3 separate regions of the Homo sapiens genome follow, and regions 2 and 3 are each linked to region 1. Evidence: promoter capture Hi-C in 16 types of primary human blood cells and fetal thymus (Javierre and others, 2016). All regions are on one chromosome and are shown on one strand. Each heading gives the region's core, a stretch centred on a gene start or on the middle of the fragment in contact. The rest is flanking DNA. Distances are from core to core; before and after follow the strand shown.

Evidence for each region. Contacts are between HindIII fragments. The CHiCAGO score rates a contact against its expected background, and 5 or more counts as called.
Region 2: a fragment that was not itself captured here is called in contact with the fragment with the promoter of GRM1 in region 1 in 1 of 17 cell types (endothelial precursors); the score reaches 6.5 in endothelial precursors.
Region 3: a fragment that was not itself captured here is called in contact with the fragment with the promoter of GRM1 in region 1 in 3 of 17 cell types (endothelial precursors, M1 macrophages and M2 macrophages); the score reaches 7.8 in endothelial precursors.

The regions. Positions count from the first base shown.
Region 1 is chr6:146,026,898-146,031,196 of GRCh38, forward strand. It overlaps GRM1 (glutamate metabotropic receptor 1), which reads left to right and starts at 2,165. Exons shown (of 8, transcript NM_001278064.2): 1 at 2,165-3,320. The coding sequence starts at 2,621. RefSeq lists enhancers at 1,983-2,483, 2,484-2,984. The HindIII fragment of the contact is 3,742 bases long and covers 16-3,757 here.
Region 2 is chr6:146,630,785-146,634,688 of GRCh38, forward strand. All of the region lies in intron 1 of ADGB (androglobin), which reads left to right. Among named protein-coding and RNA genes, the nearest start is that of ADGB, 34 kb to the left of the region's middle. The HindIII fragment of the contact is 5,071 bases long and covers 1-3,904 here.
Region 3 is chr6:146,657,427-146,661,858 of GRCh38, forward strand. The region is part of intron 5 of ADGB (androglobin); the gene reads left to right. Among named protein-coding and RNA genes, the nearest start is that of ADGB, 61 kb to the left of the region's middle. The HindIII fragment of the contact is 1,036 bases long and covers 1,988-3,023 here.

The DNA.
Region 1 (4,299 bases), core at 915-3,414:
ATGACACAAATAGAAAGCTTTGAACAAGAGTAGAAAGACACACTGTCACTTGTCTTTTCCCCTGAAAAAGCCGGGCCACATTCTGCTCAGCCAACATGTTCCCAGAGGAATGTGATTTAACTTCCGCTTTTCACACAGTCAGAAGCAACACCATAGACCTGTAGGGAAGGTGATGGCCGCCTGGGAGGAATTTGGATAAGTATTTGTCACTCCAGTATTTTCATGTGACCTGACTCTCATTCTCAATTTAGTTACATCTTGACCTGAAAATGCAGCCACAATATGTCTCTCTTCATTTGGCATACCTTAATTCATAATGGGCATGCCTGTCCTTTCCCTTCTCCCACCCTATGCAGCCTCTTCCTGATTTCCCTTGCAATCTACTAATAGAGCCTTTCTTTAGATGTCTGTACATGTGTTTACACTCTGTTTCCCTCTGTAGGGACTTTACTCGCAGAAAGAGAAAATATATTTGAGTCCCTGAGATATATATACAAAGATATCTACCCCAAAGCAGCCTAGGCAGTTCTCCACTTCTTTGGCCAGATTGTCTGACTATTCACGTATCTGGCAGCTTCTATACGACCCCTCATATAGTAAAGGAATTAATATTCCCCACTTCCTCCTAGTTTGTCTCCCCTCCTCCCTCTATCAAACGACTGATTTTTATACATGAGATAATAGACAAGCCTTGGGTGACCTGTTTTTTTTTTTCTTCCCTCCCCCTCTTTTTCCCTTGCGGTAAAATAGTGCTGAAGAAAGAGGGCACTAGTGTACAGCCCAGATCGCATCCTTGCACCGTCTGGATTAGAGCTGAGGCGTCTGCAAGCCGAGCGTGGCCACGGTCCTCTGGCCCCGGGACCATAGCGCTGTCTACCCCGACTCAGGTACTCAGGTATGTCTCAAGTCCATGTCCTCCAAACAGACTCAGGTGAGCGGACACTTCCTCCGGTGAAACCCACCCACAACGGCAGACAAAGTCCCAGTCTATCAGATTTTCCTCCGGGTCCCAGGCGCATTCTCGCTTATGTATTTCTTTTCGTCCTGTATCCTCAGGAAGAGTCGGGACCAATGGGTGCCTGGGTTTTCTTTCTCCTTTTTCTGCCTCACCTCCTGTGCTCTCCTCGCCCGCTCCCATAGCCCCCTTTTCGTCGACTCTCACCTTGAGAAAAGGAGCAGGGGAGGAACGGGAGAGGGAGCCAACTTCAGCCCCGCAGGCGGCTGAGATTTGGCGCCTCTGTCCCCAAGCGGGTGGGTTTGGATATATACCTGCACAAGCGGTGCAAGGTGATGAGAATGAGGGCGGAGGGGCGGTGGGGACTCGAGTGGAAGGGAGTGTGTGTGTGTGTGTGTGTGTGTGTGTGTGTGTGTGTGTGTGTGTATGGGTAAAGAACTCAGAGGAGGGAGGTTGAAAGAGCAAAGCGGGTCAGGGAATTGCAACTCACTGGTCAAAGCGTCCCTTGCAGGCCCTGCCAGGGAATGTCTGGCTGGACCGAGCACTGTCCAGGGTCCTGAAGGCGGCAGGGCTCAGGCTGCCGCGGCGAGAGCAACCCGGAAGCTCCCCTCCGTTCCCTTTCTAGCAACTATGCAAACCCCAAAGCAAGCGCAGGACCCCCCCTAACCCGTCCACCCACCGCGGGAAACAAGTTACCTTATCTGCACCCCTTCTTCTTGAACATACACAGCAAGCCTGACTTCTTACGGGGGAAACATACCAAACTCCTCCATACGGAGACTTTACCAGGCGTTGCCTTAGTAACTAATGTGGATTTTCTTCAAGCTGGCAAATTTATATTTACAGCTGATTTTATGTCAGGGCTTCTTCAACCCCTCAAAATTAAAGTAAAAGGTGCATCCTTTGTTTACGTTTATTTTAAAGTCGCGCTTCCACCTTTACAATGAGTTTCCAAATTTTCTTCTGAAAAAAAGTTGATCTTTTCCAATCCGGAAAGTTCTCTTGGGTTGAAGGACCTAGCTCCTCCCCTCCTCTCTGCTCACCTTCCCCACCGCCCTCCAAGTTAGAAAGCATGATAGGTTTTAGGGGACCAGGAAACGACTTAAGGTTGGAGGAGCGGGCGAGTTGGCGGGGCTCTGCGCCGCCTGGACCCGTGAGGACAGAGGGGGCAGGACACCCCGCCTTCCTCAGTGACCACAGCTGCGCTCCAAGCTGTTCCTGCAGCCGATATCAGGATGTGCCGAAATGAAACGGACAAGGCAACTGTTAACATTATAGACCCCAGAGTTTTAACACAGGTCCTCTGATGACAAGGTTGTGATTTTTCTCTGTCTTTTGTCAGCAGCATCTAGCTCACCGCTGCCAACACGACTTCCACTGTACTCTTGATCAATTTACCTTGATGCACTACCGGTGAAGAACGGGGACTCGAATTCCCTTACAAACGCCTCCAGCTTGTAGAGGCGGTCGTGGAGGACCCAGAGGAGGAGACGAAGGGGAAGGAGGCGGTGGTGGAGGAGGCAAAGGCCTTGGACGACCATTGTTGGCGAGGGGCACCACTCCGGGAGAGGCGGCGCTGGGCGTCTTGGGGGTGCGCGCCGGGAGCCTGCAGCGGGACCAGCGTGGGAACGCGGCTGGCAGGCTGTGGACCTCGTCCTCACCACCATGGTCGGGCTCCTTTTGTTTTTTTTCCCAGCGATCTTTTTGGAGGTGTCCCTTCTCCCCAGAAGCCCCGGCAGGAAAGTGTTGCTGGCAGGAGCGTCGTCTCAGCGCTCGGTGGCCAGAATGGACGGAGATGTCATCATTGGAGCCCTCTTCTCAGTCCATCACCAGCCTCCGGCCGAGAAAGTGCCCGAGAGGAAGTGTGGGGAGATCAGGGAGCAGTATGGCATCCAGAGGGTGGAGGCCATGTTCCACACGTTGGATAAGATCAACGCGGACCCGGTCCTCCTGCCCAACATCACCCTGGGCAGTGAGATCCGGGACTCCTGCTGGCACTCTTCCGTGGCTCTGGAACAGAGCATTGAGTTCATTAGGGACTCTCTGATTTCCATTCGAGATGAGAAGGATGGGATCAACCGGTGTCTGCCTGACGGCCAGTCCCTCCCCCCAGGCAGGACTAAGAAGCCCATTGCGGGAGTGATCGGTCCCGGCTCCAGCTCTGTAGCCATTCAAGTGCAGAACCTGCTCCAGCTCTTCGACATCCCCCAGATCGCTTATTCAGCCACAAGCATCGACCTGAGTGACAAAACTTTGTACAAATACTTCCTGAGGGTTGTCCCTTCTGACACTTTGCAGGCAAGGGCCATGCTTGACATAGTCAAACGTTACAATTGGACCTATGTCTCTGCAGTCCACACGGAAGGTAGGCATTATATTTGGGAAAGAAGGGTACTGAGAAAGTCAGGGCAATGCATGATGTGCTCCTGGGATCATAGTATTGTTCCTGTTTATTTCTAGCACTGTGGGGAACGGAGTTTACCCTTCTCAGTACTGCCCACCCAGGCATTGCCTTTTATCCTCATTTCCTTACAATTATAGTGTAGGAAAATTGTACCCCATAGAATATCTGAGGATAATAGGAGCTGAAAGGGTATCAAACTTTCCATGCAAAGTGTCCAGCAGTAGATTTGACTTGAATACTTGTTTGCCCTCATATTTTGAGTTTGCGTTTGGAAGGCTTATTTGTCCAAGGTGTTATATTGCCCTTCAGTGACTGGCTATGACTTTCCAGGTGTAATGAGTTAATTCAGTGTGAGTGATTGGCAAAAAGAAGTTACTATTCCACAAATAGGACTTCAAAGCTTTATCTTTCTTTAACAGTTGAAGATTTTCTTTGTCCTCTTGTACCCCTTCTTACATATCCAAAACTTTCCTGTGAATGTAGGATTAATGCAGTCATCTCCCTCAGTATATCAGAAACTTATATTTTTACTTCTGGAGTACCTTAGTTACAAAGAAAAAGTAAGTAATTTAAATAATGTATTTTCTTCTTACTTTATAGGCTAAAATCATCCAGATTCCCTCACTCCCCCAAGAATTATCTTGTTTTATGAGAAATAACACTGGTGACCACTTGGATTTGAGTTTTGGTTTCTAGTCTTTTTTCTTCTAACACAATGAACTTACATATTAGAATTAAAGTTAGATCAGTTATAAAATACTAATGAATGGATAGCAGATATTAGGTTTATAATGTCTTTCTAAAATGCAATAGATTAACCTAAGGTTAAAAGCTTTGATTTTTCCAGAGACTTATGGATGTGAATTTTCAAAAATTTTTTATATAAAGATTTTCTAGACTCTCTTCACCTTAGGTTATATACATTTTTTAATAAAAGGGG
Region 2 (3,904 bases), core at 272-2,771, 600 kb after region 1:
ATGAGAAAATCCACCTAAGCACAGAAAGATTATAAGAAAGCTAACTTTTCACTGAGACTTGAGTAGGTTTGTGACTTGCTTTTACATTATCTATGGGTTCCTGGATGGCTTATTCATTTGGGGTTTCTGACAGAAGAAAACTCAATGTTATATTGAAAGAACATCTTCTCAACACAGGATTACCCTGGAGGAAAAGGATAGGAGGAGAAGAAAACCCTGATAAGGATAAGCTCATAATTAAAGAATATACAAAATATTGGCAAAAGTCACAACAAGCAAGAGAATCGAAAGTTGAAAATTTAAGATAATAGAAGAATAATCTGTAATATAGCATACAAGTGCTTATAATGATTAAAGATACGAAAGAGGAAATCCAAATCCTAACAGTATAATTGCACTCTTTATTTGAGACAATGCTACAGTATCGAAAAACCAAATCTCAGTGACTTAACACTACAAAGAATATTTCTTTCATACCAGAGTGTGACCAGGTGTGTAGTGCTGGCTTTGCATGTGCTGAATAAGAGTTCCTGACTCCTTTCATTTTGTGGTATAACCATTTTGTAAGGTGTCCTTATAGGACTCAGACAGACATTGAGCAGGAAGAGAGAGAGAAGTATCTCACAGAATGTTTATGAACCCGAAGCTGGAATACAACATAACATAGTGCTAGCCAAACTGCAAAAGAAATGGAAACAGGATCGGTAGGCTTCTGCTCAATCTCTACCTACATATAAAAATTTGACAGAGTTTCAATTAGGTATATCAGAAATGTAAATTACAGGCATTCATTGTTTCATTTCATATAAATAGATGATAGAGATAGATTTATTACTTTGTCCAGGTACCATCCCAGTTACTGGAGATGGAGGAAATGAACAAAAAATCCAATGTTCCTACCACAGTGGAGTTTACAAAATCCTACCTGTGGAGGCACACAGTCAGCACATAAATAAAGGATTAGTGAGAGTACTGAGTAGTATAAAAATGAAGCAATATGAAATGATGCAGAGAAGCACCTTGCTATAATAGGGTGTTCATGAAAGTCCTCCAGCCCTCACCTCCAGGAGGTGATATTTGAGAGATGTTTCCTTGTTTCTAAATTCAACATTTAGTTGTTTTCACTTTATCATTCTTGATCTGCTAGCTGCATTTAGGTCTCCTGCTCATCTCCTCATTAAAAAAAAAAAAAAACAAAAAAAACCTTCACTTGGTTTCCAAGGTATCGCCTTCCAGTGTGTTTTTCCTACCTCAGTGTATTAGTTTCTTATGGCTGCTAGAATAAAATATCACAAACTTAATGGCTTCAAATCACATACATTCATTGACAAATTCATTTGGAATTCTCGAGGTCACAAGTCCAAAATGGGTCTCACTGAGCTACCAACAAGGTTTCAGCAGGGCTGCCTTCCTTTCTGTAGGCTCTAGGAGAAAATCCACTTCCTTGCCTTTCCAGCTTCTGGAACTTGACCACATTCCTCGGCTTGTGGCCACTTTTGTCTATCTTCCAAACCCAGCAATTTTCCCTTTTTGCTTTCTTCAGCAGCCACTTTTCCCTCTAACCTCCTCCGACTCCTTCTTCCACTTTTGAGCACTCTTGGAGTTACTCTGAGATCCCCAGATAATCCAGGATAATCTCCCCATCTCAAGATACTTAATCACATCTACAAGCTCCCTTTTTCAATGGAGGGTAACAGATCCACAGTTTCCAGGGACTAAGATGTGTATGTATTTGAAGTAGGGGTTGGTGGTTATTCTGTCTACCACATTCAGTGACTGCTTTCTTTTCTCAGTGTTCACAGTTATTTCCTCCTTATCTCTCTGACCCTTACATATAGAGTACCAGGGCAGAAATACAGCTCTGTTGATTACTAGAGATTGAAATATTTTTATATTTCTCAGTAGGTAGTCTTAACAATTACCAATAACTCTTGAGTTCCAGACATTTCTGCCTTTTGCCCTAGGTCCCTGACTTTCCCTGAGGACTTTAAATATTTGTTCCTGCTACATAAAATACGGAATAAATGTCTGGCTTAGTTGGAGGCTTTGAAGACACTGACCCAGCATTGTGGTCAGGGTCCATTTAGAATTGTTCTTGCTCAATCTATACCAGCTGTTAGCATCCCTGGGTGTGCCCCTTCCTTAAGTAGTTATTTTCTTGATGATTTCATCCAGTCTTAAGACTTTAAATACCACCTAGATGCTGATGACTCTCAAAGTTTCACTTGTTGTCCAATTTTTTCTCCCAAACTTCAGAATCTGATGTCTAATTACCTACTCAGTATCCTCAAGGCTGTATTTTTGGCATCTAAAGCACAATCTTATTTATCAGCGCACTGCTGCTTTATGCCCCCTGCCTCAATTTTTCTCCGTACCACGGTCTTCTGTCGATAAGGAAATATCAACTCTATCTGCTTTCTCTATCTTAAAGTATATGCAGAATCTATTTCTTGCCTTCTCTTCAGTCACCAAGCCAGTCCAAACCCCCATTAGTTCTCTCCTCTTAATTCAAAGCATTTTACATTGTCTCCCTTCTTCCTTTGGTCTTTTTCAACATAGCAGCAAGAATTATCATCAAATTCTAATAATATCATTTTGGACCCCTGCTCAGAACCCTCCTTTGGCTTCTTATCTCACTCAGAGTAAAGACCCTCCCCCTGCCTTAGATCACCTTGACAATCTTTGCATCTAGTACCTCTCTGCAATCAACTTCCATTGCTTTTCCTCCCACTCACACAGCTTAAGGCACACTGACCTCTGTATTATTCTTAAACTAAGTCAGGATGTCCTCTGCATCTGGAATACTCTTCCTTCCTGTATCTGGAGCATTCTTTGATGGATAGTCACATAGCTTGATCCCTCACTTTCTTTTATTATTTAAATATTGCCTTACTATAGATATTTTCCTTAACCATTGTTTTAAAAATTGAGTACCTTAACTCATCAGTTCCCCTGTACTGTGTTATATTTCCCTTTAGGAGTTTCATGTTTGAATACAATCACACACCTCATAACAACACTTTGGCCACTGATGAGCCTCATATATGAGAGTGGTCATCTAGTAAACTAAGGCTAATTTATTATTGAAGAAAGAAATTGTTTTTTACAAATTTAATGTAGCCTAAGTGTACAATATTTATAAGGTCTTCAGTAGTGTACAGTAATCTCCCAGGCCTTCACAGTCACTCTCAAATCACTGACTCATTAAAAGCAACTTCCTGCAAGCTCCACTCATGGTAAGTGTGCTATACAGGTGTACCATTCTGTTTTAACTTTTATACCGTGTTTTTACTGTATTTTTCTATGTTTAGATGTGTTTGGATACACAGGTGCTTACCATTGTGTTACAGTTGCCTGCAATATTCAGGACAGTAACAGCTGTACAGGTTTATAGCCTAGGAGCAATAGACTGTACCATCTAGCCTAGCTGTGTTGCAGGCTATACCATTTGTGTAGTGTGCTTACTAGGTTTGTGTAAGCACACTCTGTTGTTTGAGGGACAACAAACTTGCCTAGCAACGGATATCTTAGAATGTATCCTTGTTGATAAGCAGTGTGTTACTGTATACTGTATATTTTACTTAATTTATGATATTTAATTTGTATCCAGAACCCACTAGGATATGAGCTGTATAGAGATTTTAGTCTGTTTTTTTTAACTGCTTGTCCCACCCACTGTCTATAGGCAGGGTTTTAGCCTCACAAGGCGTTAAAAACTTGAACATTAAATAATATACCTATTTTACACTTTAAAAATCATGAAAATGAACAAAAAGTAGCATTCAAGGTTTAGCAATATGGGAATTGTAATACACATATATTTAAAGTAGGAAACAAGCCCAACTTTTCAGTAGAAAAATAGTCAAAATCTATCACAAACCTTAAATATGCATACACTTTGGTA
Region 3 (4,432 bases), core at 1,256-3,755, 630 kb after region 1:
AGGATATCAATTGTGTAGCTACAGAGAGAAACTGTCCTGCATATGTAATTTGTGATTAATGAGAAACACAGTAGCTTCTCCTGTGATGTCAGTCCCATGGGCACTTTAAACAGGTTCTGCCTAGACCACTGAGGTATGGCCACTCATTGTAGATGCTGGTCCTGCCACTGCCTCTGCACTCTCATGCTGAGGCGAGCGGGGCAGGCAGGTGGATGCACCGGGCTTCCACCTTCCTCTTTCTTCTCTGATGTGGTATCAGGGTCATGGGCAGGAGGCAGTGCTAGCCCATGGTCCAGTCCTCTTCTGGCTTTTGCTGTAGCTGAGGGGCCTGATCCCATCAGTTCTTGGTCCTGAACTTGAGATTTGTTTTCATGTAAGCAAATCTTACCCTGAGACAGGAAGATGTTACCTCTGCCTAAAAGGAAAGCAAATAGAATAGTAGGAAGTACAAACAGAGGATCCAAAACCCCTTATAAATATGGCAAAGCAGACACACACTAAATTAGCAATGCTAGATCATATCAAACTCTTTGGGTTTTTCTTGGCCCTTGTCACTGGAAAAGAATGTCCTCCTTGAACATTTAAAGGAATGGGAAAGTATTAAAAGTTAATAATTCCATTATATATTTATGAAAATGTAACTTTTTCTTTCATAGGCCTGAGCCATCTAGCTTCCTGGGATGGGGAATGTTGAAGGGCCAATAATGAGAAATTGTTAGGATAATTACAATGGGAAGGGCAAAGGGAAAAAGGTAATATAGCTTCTAATATCCAAAATTGGATTTTTGTTTTTTAAACATCCACAGCAAGACAATTGGCCTTGAAATTTTGTTAGAAGAGAAAATAACTTTCTAAGTTACTTTATCTTATTTATTTACCAATCAAGAGGACTATTATCTAGACTAGACTTTAAGTTTTAAATCTGTGCAGAGGAGCAAGCAGAAGGGTGATATTAAAAAGGTGAAAAACCTAGTGGATAGTGTTGAGGGAGTATAGAAAGAAGGTACGCAGAGGAAAAGCGAGGAGATAAAATGCCCTGGTTCCTGTCCCACATTTGTCTAAACTTGAGGTGGGAGGAAGGTCAAAACTATGAAGTGTTTTGAAACATTGAACCAACCCTGTTGATTTATTTCTCATTCTCTCTTTCTGCTTCCTGACATCCCTCCTTGGTTTTCAAATTTCCTCCTGCATAGGAGTTAACATTCATTAACATCACTTTCCATTTTGCAAAGAAAATGTGACTTATTTCTCCTTAATCATACTGATTATTCACAAGCTCAACTCCACTTGATTCAGAAATTTGTTTAAAAATGTATTGAGCCCACTTTGGAAATCTCAGTCTGGTCCAGTCATTTAGCCCACCTCTAGATAATTTAGCCCTTTAGGGAACGATGTGGTAGAGACTGGACCTCAGCTCCACTGGCTCCCTCTGTTTCCTCAGTGGTCTCATCAGAGGAATGCCTACAGAGGATGCTGTGAGCACTGACATACCAGTTCCCTATGAATTATTTTGGTAGGCATGTGATAGAGAGGCAGCTGCCTGGTTTTCTGATTAGTAGAATCTGTTCTCTCTAGGCTTAGGGCAGAAATTTTTATTTCTTTCTACCTGATCCCCAGGTGATAGGGCTGAGTCAATATCTGTGTACATATTAACATTAGTAAGAAGTTAGAGTCAATTCTGTCTTACATGCAAATCCTATGTGGTTGGTTTTTTATCCGTTTCTTTCCTTTCCAGACACACTCAATTTGATTTTGATTTTTTTCTCTTCCAATTCTAGTTGAGCACTTGTACATGTCTGTCATTTGCTTCTCTCTGCAAGTATTTGGGAAACATGTTTATAAAATATGCATTATTACTTCTACTTCTTGATTCAGTACAATACACTACAGATTCATCTTATACCCTACATTTATTTTCTTTCCCGTTTCCCATCTTATGAGACATGATGAGTCTTCTTCTCACTGTTTTTCTTCTTTAGTTTCTTAAAGCTTTCTTACCTTTTTCTTATTGGAAATTGATTTTTCTTCTCTGCCTTATCACAAATATTCTTCTCCCTCATTCACTTTGTCCTGTAAAACATTTACCTTTATCACTTCTTTGAGGCAAACCAACCTCTCAGAGCCTCTTGGCATGACATTTAAAAATTCTGATTTTCACACCAGGTTATCATTTTTTCTATGAAAGTATTTTTATTATTTCCAGTTTGGATTCTAAGTAAATTGTATCAAGTTCTTTGACCTCAGCCAGATAGAAATTTATTGAGTAGCATTAAGAACAGGGTTGTGACACAGAGCAGCTCTCTCCCGTCTTTCACCTGGGAATGATGATACTAATGCTGGGACACATATCATCTCGTCAAGTGCCTTCCAATGGCAGCATTCCTTTGGGCCCCCGAAAGAAGCAGGTTAGCCATTGCTCTCCGCTTGAAATATGTATTGCTGATGGCAGCTTTTCTCTGAGTGTCTCTGTGCTTTCATTTGTTTCTGATAAACAGAGAAAACACACACATTAGGACCAATAATTTTTCCCAGTTGCCATCAATATGTTTATATAAAAATGCATTTGCTTTATTTCTGATTGAGCCTTATACTGCTTAACCACAATGTTATTCTAGAATTCAGAGTTTCCTAATTTTGTGGTACAGAAACCCCCCAACATCAAACTGGCTGTTGTACTTCTTAAACATCCACTTCCCATGCCCCACTCCAGACCTCATGAGTTTGAATTTCCAGGGTAGAGCCTGCAATCCTGCATTATAAGAAAACTCTCTCATCCAGTGACATTTTTGTTCATTAAATTTGAGGAACAATGTTTGCAAGATATAAACTATGACAAAATTATTTTTCTATCATTCAATTACTTTGTTCCAAAATGGAAATGCTTTATTTCATTATATGTAATATTATACATGCTTTTAAAACAGGAAATTCAACTACTGTTAAAATGTTCAAAGTATGCAGTGAAAGTTCCCCGTAATTTTACCATATTTAATCACAGCAAATGATTTATTTATATCCTCCTAAGCTTTCTTCTATTCTTATAAACATACATAAAGCTATTGTACATAATTTATAACAATAGGGTCATAGAAATGTATTATTCTGTACACTATTCTTTTCCCTACACACAGTCATTTTCTATGCTAATATATATTGATCTACTTTGTATTCCATTGTGTGAGATATGTAAATATAATATATATTGCTAATTTGATATTGGTAAACATTTAGGTTAGGACCAGTGTTTTACCAAAACAAACAATGCTGTAAAATTTCATCTTTATGTATATAGTCTTTGCCCATTTGTACGGACTTCTTTTTCTAGGATTTCTACCATATGGAGTTATTCCATCAAAATATTTGCAAATTCTTAATTTTTGATAAGTATATTCAAGTTACTCTTGTATTTTAATTTGTCTGTATAGAACATTTATATTTGATGTAATTGGAATTGAAGTCTGTGATTTTATTCTTTGTTTGTTCTTTGTTACCTTTCTTATTTTGTGTGTGTTACTTTGTATTTATTGCATTCTTAATCCCCTTTCCTTTACTCCTGTATGTTTCTTGGGCATTCCTTAGGATTCCATTTTGATTGACCTATAGTGCTTTCAAGCAAATCTCTTCACTTTATGAATTAAAATATACATGCATAGCTTATCACAGTCAACTAGTATCATGATTTTACCACTTGAATTGGAATATAAATACTTTACCACCATTTAGTCTTCTTTATATTCCTCCTTTTCTAATATAGCTTTCTTTTCCTTTTTCCTTTACTTTTTTTTCTTTTTTTCTTTTTTTTTTTTTTTTTGGAGATAGGGTCTGACTCTGTCGCTCAGGCTGGAGTGTAGTGGCACAATTATAGCTCACTGCAGCCTCCACTCCTGGGATCCAGTGATCCTCCTGCCTCAGCCTCCCAAGTAGCTAGCACTACAGGTATGCCATCATCACGCCTGACTAATTTTATTTTTTGTAGAGACAGGGTCTCACTATGTTGTGCAGGCTGGTCTTGAATTCCTGACCTCAAGTGATCCTCCTGTCTCGGCCTCCCAAAGTGTTGGGATTACAGGTGTGAGCCACCACACCCAACCACTGATATAGTTTTTTTAAACATTTCCTGTGTATATATTGAAAACTTCATCATAAATTTTGCTTTTAAATTCAAACACAATATAAAAAATTTGAAGACAAGAGTACCACATTTAGTCATATGTTCATTTTTTATTTTTTAAGTAAATATTTTAACTGGCATGTAAAATTTTTCCTTTATGCTTTCTCATTCTTGATGTTCCATTTTTCCTTTTATTCTCCTTTCTTTTTATTTCTGAAAAATTTTCTTTCGCAATTCCTTTTGAGACACTCTAATGATGACAAATTATCTTATCTTTCCTTTATCTGAGAATGTGTTTATTTTACTCTTATTCCTAAAGAA